Linked DNA regions of Homo sapiens: region 2 is linked to region 1. Evidence: promoter capture Hi-C in 16 types of primary human blood cells and fetal thymus (Javierre and others, 2016). All regions are on one chromosome and are shown on one strand. Each heading gives the region's core, a stretch centred on a gene start or on the middle of the fragment in contact. The rest is flanking DNA. Distances are from core to core; before and after follow the strand shown. Region 1 holds the start of RPS7 (ribosomal protein S7). Region 2 overlaps MYT1L (myelin transcription factor 1 like).

The links. Contacts are between HindIII fragments. The CHiCAGO score rates a contact against its expected background, and 5 or more counts as called.
Region 2: a contact is called between a fragment that was not itself captured here and the fragment with the promoter of RPS7 in region 1, in 2 of 17 cell types (naive CD4 T cells and naive CD8 T cells). The highest score is 10.0, in naive CD4 T cells.

What each region holds. Positions count from the first base shown.
Region 1 is chr2:3,571,991-3,577,618 of GRCh38, forward strand. RPS7 (ribosomal protein S7) reads left to right here and starts at 3,270. Exons shown (of 7, transcript NM_001011.4): 1 at 3,270-3,360; 2 at 3,602-3,694; 3 at 3,827-3,898; 4 at 4,497-4,640. The coding sequence starts at 3,620. It overlaps LOC124907726 (a long non-coding RNA gene), which reads right to left and starts at 3,119. Exons shown (of 2, transcript XR_007086196.1): 1 at 2,145-3,119. RefSeq lists enhancers at 2,823-3,398, 3,399-3,975 and a silencer at 3,527-3,816. The HindIII fragment of the contact is 5,628 bases long and covers 1,930-5,628 here.
Region 2 is chr2:2,052,080-2,057,707 of GRCh38, forward strand. It overlaps MYT1L (myelin transcription factor 1 like), which reads right to left. Exons shown (of 25, transcript NM_001303052.2): 4 at 1,899-2,044. Among named protein-coding and RNA genes, the nearest start is that of MYT1L-AS1, 260 kb to the right of the region's middle. The HindIII fragment of the contact is 1,905 bases long and covers 1,864-3,768 here.

The DNA of each region.
Region 1 (5,628 bases), core at 2,020-4,519:
CAAGGGAGTGACCTCCTTAGATGGCTTTGACTTTCAGAAGCAGAGTGTTTCACATATTCAAAAGTCAACAAGGGCTGAGCATGGTGGCTCACACCTGTAATCCCAGCACTTCGGGATGCCAGGGTGGGCAGATCACATGAGGTCAGGAGTTCATGTCACCCAGGTTCAAGCGATTCTCCTGCCTCAGCTTCCCGAGTAGCTGGGATTACAGGCGGGTGGCACCACACCTGGCTAATTTTTGTATTTTTAGTAGAGACAGGGTTTCCCTGTGTTGGCCAGGCTTATCTCCTGACCTCAAGTGATCCACTCACCCTGGGTGGATTATCCCAAAGTGCTGGGATTACAGGTGTGAGCCACTGCGGCCCACCTGCATTGTTATTTTGAATGTATTTTCTCATAGTGTCAGATAAAGCAAGTAATTGTATTTTTGTGTTTAGGAAGCAAGGTTTTTATTACAGGAGAAAAGGAGATGCTATGATAGAATCGAGGATTTCAGAAGGAATTGTTCTGTTAGAAGTGGATTGAGAATGTCAATGTGAACTTGTATCTTTTATGAAAAAATTATTTTAAATGCCATCTTTCTAAGTTCTGTCCGCTGAAACGGCTTATGAGGAGCCCCACGATGCCTCCTGCTGCCAAAATTCTGGTCTCCAGTACTATTTTTCCAGAAAAACAAAAACAAAAGTATCAGCACTTCTAGGAGAAAAGGCTCATTCTATGTCTCAGGCAGAAAATTACAAGAGGAGCCTGGAATATCTTGTGCCAGAAAACAAGATGTTCAGACATTCATAGAAATGACAAGACTCGGCTGCTTATCTAAGAGGGGCCCCTCCTGGTCACAACTGAGACAATTTGAGGATCAAAGGAGAATATTGGCTGAGACTGATTGATGTACAGCAAATCTGAAATGTCCCATGTCCATAATGATACATAAAAGAGTTAACAAAGTGTTCTAAAAGTAAGTGGATTGCATAGATGATATTTCTGTTCATTGTCAATCATGTTGGTATTATCGACTCACTTATTGTATGGTTAAATAATAAAGAAGCTAGTACTAGTAAAACCAGGAAAACAATCTAATGTAATGATTAGTAGGCATTTCCTAACATAAAATTAGTAGAATGACCCTCTAAGTTGTGATTATGATCCTGAAACTACCTATTAAAAATACATGTGCAACCTCTATCAACTTCTATCAGGTTCTAGGTTTTAAAAATCACATTTCTTAGGATCTCATGAGGCTCAAAGCTAAAGAGTTAGAAAGGAAAAGCATTTATGTATATTAACAGCACATTAACAGCTAAAAAGAAAAACTCACATAATCATATTAGTTCATAGAAACAATGCATTTGACATACTCCAACATCCATTCATGATTTTATTTTATTTTTTATTTATATATTTTTTTTGAGATGGAGTCTCGCTGTCACCCAGGCTGGAGTGCAATGGCTCGATCTCGGCTCACTGCAGGCTCCGCCCCCGGCGGTTCACGCCATTCTCCTGCCTCAGCCTCCCGAGTAGCTGGGACTACAGGCGCCCGCCACCTCGCCCAGCTAATTTTTTGTATTTTTAGTAGAGACGGGGTTTCACCGTGTTAGCCAGGATGGTCTCGATCTCCTGACCTCGTGATCCACCCGCCTCGGCCTCCCAAAGTGCTGGGATTACAGGCGTGAGCCACCGTGCCCGGCCCATGATTTTAAAAAAACCTCTCAGAAATAGAAACAGAGGGAACTTCCTGAATTTGATTAAAAATACCTGCAAAATCCTAGAGCTAATATTATACTTAATGGTGAAAGACTGAATGGTTTTCCCCTAAGATGGAGAACAAGGCACGGATGTCCTTGCTCACCACTCCTATTCAACAAAGGACTGGAAACCAGAAATAACTTTAATTTTTTTTGTTCTCAAGTGATAGGTTCACAGAGAAAAAGCTTTACTGGATGAACTTTTAGATTACTACTTTTATAGAGCAGCAGAGATAAAAGCCAGGTCGAAAAGTGCATGTGGAGTAAGGAAATGGACCTAGTTCGACAAAAGGGCTCAGAACGACTGCCCAGATGAGATTGTAGACGCAGCTGTAGTTTACTTTCTATCTGGAAGAAACTTCAAGTTATCCTTAATTTTCCAAGGAGACAGTCACTTACCTTTTAAAAAACATTATTAGAGAAGCACCGGGCGGGAGCATATCTAGCATTAAAAATGTGGGATGAATACCATCTCTGCTTGGTAAAGGTGGTTGGGAATCCTGAGAGAGGGCACCTAGTGTGGCTTCTGCATTTTTCACAGTGCCTGGACCACGGCTGAAAGTAACTCTTGCATGACATTTGACAGAAGAGGAAACCGAAGCTCAGATTAAATTCCCTGTCCACAGCGGGATCATTCGGCACGAGTTCCTCCCTGTCTGGAATGCTCTTCCCCAGCAATAGATCCTGCGGCTCTTCCGTGTCTCAGTCTAATGTCATTCCGTTCCAGGATTCCCGACTTCTTAAAGCATAAATAATCCCTCCCCACCCTCTCATTGTACTGTTATGTAAGTTATTACAATATGTCATTATATATTTAGTCATACTGCTTTAGGTAATGTCTTCTCCACTGAACTGTAAGCTCCATGAGGGCAAGAGTTCAGTCGGTTTTACTTAATAATTAGCACCTAGTACAGTACTAGCATAGAATGAAGGCCTCGCAATTTTTTTTAAATTTATTTTTAGACAGGGTCTTGCGCTGTCGCCCAGGCTGGAGTGCAGTGGTGCAACCTCGGCTCACGGCAGCCTCGACCTTTCGGCTCCAGCGATCCTCCCGCGTCGGCCTCCGGGGTAGCTGGGACTGCAGGCGCGCACCACCATGACTGGCTAATTTTTTTTTTTTTTTTTTTGTAGACATGGGGTCTCGCCATGTTGCCCAGGCTGGTTCCTGAGCTCAAGTGATCCTCCTGCCTCGGCCTCCCAAAGTGCTGGGATTACAGGCGTGAGCCTCAGCGCCCAGCCAAGTTAGCCTTTTTTAAACGTCCTGTCTCCGGAGGTTGCCGAAGTTGGTTTTCTTCGGCCTCCTTCTCTCTCCCAGGCCCAGGGCTGGGACGAGGCCGGTTCCCGCCTGCAACCTGCACTGAAGACGGGAACCTTGGGAGCCGGTACCGGAACGCTCGGAAACGGCACCAAAGTACGAATCCTAGGGCGGAAAAGCGTTACCAAGACACTCGTCCCCAGAGCCGCTTCCTGGGACTCTCTAGCCTCCTACCGCTTCTCAGTGATGTTCCGGTTTCCGCCCTCCTCCTCGCGCTGTTTCCGCCTCTTGCCTTCGGACGCCGGATTTTGACGTGCTCTCGCGAGATTTGGGTCTCTTCCTAAGCCGGCGCTCGGCAAGGTAGGTTGGCGGCCTGCTCTCCGACAGAACTTTTCTTCTTGGGTTGAGGAAAACGCCTTTTGGAGTCAGGCCCTGGAGGGGCGAGCCTTGCTCACAGGGTGGGGATACAGCCGATTACCCGCCCTGTGCTTTCCGATGGCTTCTGCGGGGCGAGCGGGGCCTGGCCGGGGGGTGCGGGCGGGAGGGCGAGCCAGCGGCGCCTGCAGCCCGGGCCGCGTAACGCTGACCGCTGTGCCTTCAGTTCTCCCAGGAGAAAGCCATGTTCAGTTCGAGCGCCAAGATCGTGAAGCCCAATGGCGAGAAGCCGGACGAGTTCGAGTCCGGCATCTCCCAGGTGAGAGGGTTTCCCTGGGGTCTGGGGTGGGGGGAGGCGCCCCGCCCGGGAGGGGAGGCGGCCGCGCGTGTGTTGGGCCCGGGGTGCTCGGACGCGCGCTCAGGGTCGGTCCTGCTGTTCGTTGCTTCTTAGGCTCTTCTGGAGCTGGAGATGAACTCGGACCTCAAGGCTCAGCTCAGGGAGCTGAATATTACGGCAGCTAAGGTAAGCTGGCGCTCCCTCGGCTGGGAGGGAGGTTGCGGCGCGTCTCCCCGCGCAGTGCCTGAGAGGGTTGGACCTGGGTTACGGTTGATGATGACTTGCCGCCTGGCCGCCTAACCTGAACTCAGGTTCGGCCGTGTTGTTTGGGAGTGATACCGCCCAGGTGCGGGGAGTGGGGTTGCAGGTACCCTGCGGCTTAAGCTGTCCACATGCGGGCGGTGGAGAAACGTGGAGTAGGGAGGGCCTGGGCCCATTTCGGACCTTATTTGCCCTTACTTAGTTATAGATACGGCAAAGAGCTGTGGGGAGCTCAGGATGAGATTCTCTCTACCCTTAGCCCGGAGTTGCCGCAAGTGGGGGTGCAGAAGTGGTAGTGATTGGCCTCCTGGCCTGAACAGTCTCCCTTCCTGGAATAAGGAAATGTGAAGGTTGGAGAGAGATGAGAACATTTCCGAAGGATGCATTTATGATTAACTCAAAACTAGTATTAGTTTGTAGTGCAGCTACGGTGTTAGTGATAAGGTCTTCTTATCCTCTAATTTGACCACAACGTTTACTTTCTGAAGCAGTTAACACAGTGGATTTTTGTTTTTTTCTTTAGGAAATTGAAGTTGGTGGTGGTCGGAAAGCTATCATAATCTTTGTTCCCGTTCCTCAACTGAAATCTTTCCAGAAAATCCAAGTCCGGCTAGTACGCGAATTGGAGAAAAAGTTCAGTGGGAAGCATGTCGTCTTTATCGCTCAGGTATCTGTTCTACTGTTGCAGCACGTTTCTGTTTGTGAATTTTGCTAAAATTGCTTGTATTTAGACTGCATTGGTAGTTGGAGTCATGAAAACAATCCTTTTATGAATCCAATTGGGTAGAAAGATAAAGTACAGGCAGAGCGCCGTGGCTTAGGCCTGTAATCCCAGCACGGGGAGGTGGAGGCGGGTGGATCACTGTAGAGACCAGCCTGGGCAACATGGTAAGACCCTGTCTACAAAAAATAGAAAAAATAAGTTTTAAAAAGAAAGATAAAGTACGTTCTTTAATTAAGAGTCGAAACAAGAAGTCTGTAAAGTGACAGACTGCTGTGTTTTGAGTTATGAAAATGATTTCCCATATTTAAATTTCCACAAGTCTAGTGGGTTGCTTACATAGATGATCAAACTAAGAAACCTGTTACAGGCCGGGCCCTGTGGCTCACTCCTGTAATCCCAGCACTTTGGGAGGCTGAGGCAGGCGGATCACGAGGTCAGGAGATCGAGACCATCCTGGCTGACACGGTGAAACCCCGTCTGTACTAAAAAATACAAAAAATTAGCTGGGCGTGGTGGTGGGCGCCTGTAGTCCCAGCTACTCGGGAGGCTGAGGCAGGAGAATCGCGTGAACCCGGGAGGTGGAGCTTGCAGTGAGCCGAGATCCCGCCACTGAACTTCAGCCTGGGCGACAGAGCGAGACTCCATCTCAAAAAAAGAAGAAACCTGTTACAGTTCGGATGGGGGATTGGTGCAAACTGAAGTCTATGGGGAATGAAGTGCCAGGATTGATCTGGAATAAAAGTAGTATTCTGGGTCATAGGCATGGGGAAAGGCGTATCTGGGAGATTTTGTCCACTGGCGTATTAGTAGAGGCTGTGGATTCTGAATGATTTATTCAAGAATCAGGAAGTAACTCCATAGAAGGGTTTGCTCAGTCAATTGTTCGTCTAAGTTGTTTAGCCTTCTCGAACTTTGAACTTACCCTGCCATT
Region 2 (5,628 bases), core at 1,566-4,065, 1.5 Mb before region 1:
ACTGGCATAAAGACAGAGAAACAGACCAGTAGAACAGAATAGAGAACCCAGAAATAAATTCTTGCATATACGGTCAAATGATTTTTGACAAGGGTGCCATAACCATTTATTGGAGCAAGGACAGTCTTTTCAACACACAGAGTATACCCACATGCAAAAGAATAAAGTTATAACATTACCTTAAACCTGTAAAAAGAAAAATTAACTCCAAATGGGTTAGCAACTTAAACACAGAGGCTAAAGCTATAAAACTCTTAGAAGAAAATAGGAAGGATCAGCTTCCTGACATTGGATTTGGCAATGATTGATTGGATATGATACCCAAAGTATAGGTTAAAAAAATGTCTAAATTGGGCAACATCAAAACTTAAAACAACGAAATGTTTGTGTGTCAAGGGACACTACCAACAAAGTGAAAGGCAACCCATGAAACAGCAGAAGATATTTGCAAATCATATATATGATAAGGAGCTAATATCTATAATATATAAGAATTCCTACAACTCAAAAACAAATAACTGATTAAGGCAAAGGACTTAGACATTTCTCCAAAGAAGACATGCAAATGTCCCATAAACACATGGAAAGATGCTTAACACCACTAATAATGAGGGAAATGCAAATCAAAACCACAATAGGATGCCACTTCACATCCATCAGGATATCTATTATTTTTAAAAAAGAAAACCACAGGAAAGAGTTAAGTGTTGGCCTGGATATGGAGAAATTGGAATCCTTGTGAACTGTGGCGATAATGCACCACTTTATGGTGCAGCCACTATTGAAAAGAGTGGCATTTCCTGAACAAATTAAAAATAAAATATGATCTACATGATCCAGCAATTCCACTTCTGGGTTGATGCTCAGGAAATGTGAAATCAGGGACTCAGATATATATTTCTACACTCAAGCTAATAGGAGCATAATTCACAGTAGCTGAAAGGTGGAGGCAGCACACGTGTCCACTGACAGATGTACAGTGGACTATTATTCAGCCTTAGAAAGGAAGGATGCTCTGACCCATTCTACGACATGGCTGGATGTTGAGGGCATTATGCTAAGTGAAAGAGAGCAGTCACAAAAGAACAGATACCGTACAATGCCACTCACATGAGGTAAGACTAGTGGTCATATTCACAGAGAGAGAAAGCAGAATGCTGGGACCCAGAGAGTGTGGGGGAGGCCTGGGGAGGTAGTGTTTAACGGGGACAGGGTTTCAGTTAGGGAACGAAAAAGTTCTGAAGACGGCAGGTGGTGACCATTGCACCACTATGTGAATACACTTGATATCACTAATTGCACATTTGAAAACTGTAAAAATGGTAAATTTCATGTTATATGTATTTTACAATTATTTTGAAAACAAAAGGCCATAACCTGAAGTTTTTCAAGAAGCATGACTCCCAGAGCCCACAGTGGCAGCAAGGGACGTTTGTCAACAGTAACTGACAGAAACCTACAGGAACCCTAGGCAATGCAAAACAGGCCCTAATTAATGACCTTCTTAATTTCCTCAAATATAAAATATCCCAAAATAGAACTAATAATGGACACAGGGATCTGATTTTAAAGGGGCTTTGTACAAGGGAGCTTCTCTATGACTGCTGAAAGGTGAACCAGGCCTATTAGTATGCTTATCAATTCTTCTTTTGGGTGATGTTATAACTAGATAACAGAAGGCTACTTGAGTCTATGTTTACCAAGAGATTACACATTCTGACTTTATATTGAATTGTTTATTAAAAGCAAGAGGTGTTGTATTCTTTATCAAATAAAATGCTGCTTCATTCACAAACCTATATTTATGCCTTTTCAAAGTAACATATTTTAAGGTAAATATGCAAAACACCTGTCTGCATGTAAAGCTTAAAATATTAATACCACATAGAGTTCCTCACCTTTAGGTGGCTCCTCGGATATCCATACGTCTGTGAGACCAACTGGAACCTTTCTTGATGGAATTTTGTTGATAGCTTGAAAGATGCAAACACTTGATTGAATTCAATAACTACATTTTTTTCTTCTTCCACCAGATGTGGCCACTCTAGAGAAGAACAAAAAGGCAGAATAATGAGGCTGATATTCACAGTAAAAGCAAAACTCTACTTGAGGGACGTGATTGTCAGGTCTTTAATGCATCTGCTGCAAGTAGGCAATGAGGCCACGCTGGGTGCACAGACACATGGAGATGATGAGACATACAGAGATGAGATGCATGGGGATGATGACACAAATGGAGATGAGACACATGGAGATGATGAGATGCATGGACATGAAACACTAGGAGATGAGACACATGGAGATGAAATACACAGAGACCATAAGACACATGGGGATGATGAAGCACATGGAGATGAAACACTCAGAGGTGAGATCATAGAGACGCATGGGGATGATGAGACATATGGAGACACATGGAGATAATGAGACACAGAGATGAGATCCATGGGGATGATAAGACACGTGGAGATGAGACAGATGCAGATGAAACACACGGAGATGAGACACATGGAGATGAGACACAAGAGATGATAAGACACATGGAGATGGAACACACAGAGATGATGAGAGATACGGAGATGAGGTGCATGGAGGTGAGAAGCATAAAGATGATGAGACACATGGATATGATGAGATGTATGGAGATGACAAGACACATCATGAGCACATGGAGATGAGATACATGGAAATGAGATGCATGAAGATGAGACACAAGAGATGATGAGACACATGGAGATGGAACACACAGAGATGATGAGAGGTATGGAGATGAGGTGCATGGAGGTGAGAAGCATGAAGATGAGACACATGGAGATGGTGAGATGCATGGAGATTATGAACACATGGAGATGAGATACATGGAAATGAGATGCATGGAGATGAGACACAAGAGATGATGAGATGCATGGAGATAAGATGAGAGGGATGGTGGTGACAACAACCTCGTATCACACCCAATTAATTTCCAATAAATCATTCCTTATAGAAAAACCTTTTAAGAAAATTAATGAAATTACTCTTTGTAATATAAAAAATACACAAAACTATATTCTTATAAAACTAAGGGAAAGAGTCATTTTTATGATTGAGTCTACAAAGTATTAAGACTACAAAATGTGTAGAAACAAATTACAGAAGCATACGGGATGTATCTGCACATGTATTTCATAGCTTATATCATCAGCGGGTTGTCATGTGTGTTTGTATTTTTGTCCTTCTCAGTTCAAAGGATAGCAAATAAGTTGTGATTTCCACATAAAAGATTTTACAAGAGCATGTTATTAATTAAAAAGCAAAACAAAATGCAACATCTTGGGTAATAATTTAAAATTTTTTATTTGTTATAGCTATAAAGCAACATCCAAATAGTGTTTAAAATGGGGCTTATGCATAAACTTCTGTGATTAATGTTTATATAGTAGGCACAGTTATTTCCAACACATTCTGAGCTATTACTTACTAAATTGACTAAGAAAGGTTGGAATGGTATTCGACATAGTGGTTTTATAAAAATGCAAGTTAATTCTCACCATTTGAAAGACAAAAAATAGACAAATTTAAATAAATCTTATAAACAAACCAACATAAAGCAAAACAAGTGATTGAGAAATAGTAGGATTGGACATTAATAATCAAAGCCACTCTAATATATTGCCAGTACTATGCTTAAAACAATCATAATATTTTGCTTTCATAAAATATTATTACGTTAATTTACACAATGACTTACTCTACTGGTAATCCTAAAAATTCATCTCTATCACTTTAAGCTTGTTAGCATGTTCTATAGATTCATCGTGTTGTCCATCGTTGTTTTGGGAAAAGTGTTTTTTCTATTCTTCAGTGTTCACAAAAGGTAACAAGGAGGAAGACCTGGAGACCATCAGGCCATTCCTGTGGGAGCAGCCGCAGTCCCAGTGCCTCAACGGCAGATATGACTGATCATTGTCAGGAGAGGGACAGGTTTTTCATTAAAGTGATAAGTATCTACAAAACAGAATTTTGTGGACAAAATGAAAGGTTTTATTTGGAGCGTGCTCTGTTCTCCAGGCGCACATTCACAAATCATGGAGTCAGGAGTGCCCTTCCCATTCCCAGGTGAAACAGCAAAGCACCTTCAGCCTCTCATCAGGGCTGCTTGTCCAAATACTCCAGTTTGGGTGCTCCTGGCTCCTTTCCTGGGTCCCTCAGGCTCTCCAGGCGTGAGGACACACCCTCACAAACATGAGAACCCCTCTTGGAGGAAGGGGAGTTAGAGTAATTGCTGGAGGTGAGACTACCTTTGTTCCAAGATGCATTCCCGTCTGGGAGTAATTTATGAGATGTAGATTTAAAAGCCACTGACAAATGAACTATAGGCTAAATGCCCTTGCAGGGTATATGATGCTGCTGCTTACTAAATGTGTGTGCACATCCATCCGTCCATCCATCCATCCATCCAACTACAGTGTGCTTTTAACAATAGGTCCTCACTAGGTAAAGATTCACAGAACAATTAGGTAAGGAGTGAGTGAGTCAGTGACCTCCTTTTCCCAGTTCTTCAGGTGCGGTAGGAAGGAATATGCACCCACGGTTCTGGCTGCTCACAGTTCCCTGTCACAGATGCTGCTTGTGATCACTGGTAATGGAATTCCCAGGATGAACTCTTAAACGGCATGTTTAGCAGGCAGCTTAGCTGCAAAACAAAAATAACAGCAGCCAGGCGGAAGCTCCTTGGGGCTCTCAGTCACACTCTGTTCTCAGCCAAAGTTTTGCTGGCCTTTCTCCTCATCCACCCTTCCTCTAATCTCCCAAATGAGAATGAGTGGGTTTTTCTTTACGGCATTTGTCATTATCTGGGATTATATCACACAGATTTTGGTTTTAAACTGTTTTGAGGTAACTGTAGATTCACATGCAGCTGGAAGAAAGAATACAGAGATCCCATGCACCCGTCTCAGTGTCCGCCAATGACAACATTTTGCAGAACCATAGCACATACAGGCAGAACGACATTGATTCCTCCCACCGATGTCCAGATTTCCTACTTCTCTTGTGTTCATATATGTGCATGCGATTTTAGCACCAGTGTAGGTTTCTGTGTCTATGACCACAGTCAACATGCAGATAACTATCACCGAAGGAGCAAGAGTTCCTCTGTGTCCTTTTATAGCCCCGCCCACATCCTGCCCTTTCATCACCAAGTCCACCCTCTTCCCTTTCATAGCCACGCCCAGCCTTTTCCTGTTCATCACCACGCCCACTCCCTGCCCTTTCACAGCCACGCCCAGCCTCTTCCTGTTCATCACCAAGTTCACTCCTTTCCCTTTCATAGCCACACTCACCCTTTTCCTGTTCAGAGCCACGCCCATCCTTTTCCTTTCATAACCATGACCACCCCATTGTCTTTCATTGCCACGTCCATCCCCCTTCCAATTAATAGCCACGCCCACTTCTGCCCTGCACATAGCCACCCCCACCATCTTTTTTCATAACCAAGCCCAGCCTCTTTCCTTTCAGAGCCACACCCATATTCCTTCCCTTTCAGAGCCAACTCTCCTACCCTGAACTCCTGGCAACCACTCATCAGTGTTTCCTGTCGTTTTGTTATTTCAAGAACGTTCTATAAATGAAGTCATACACTGTGCA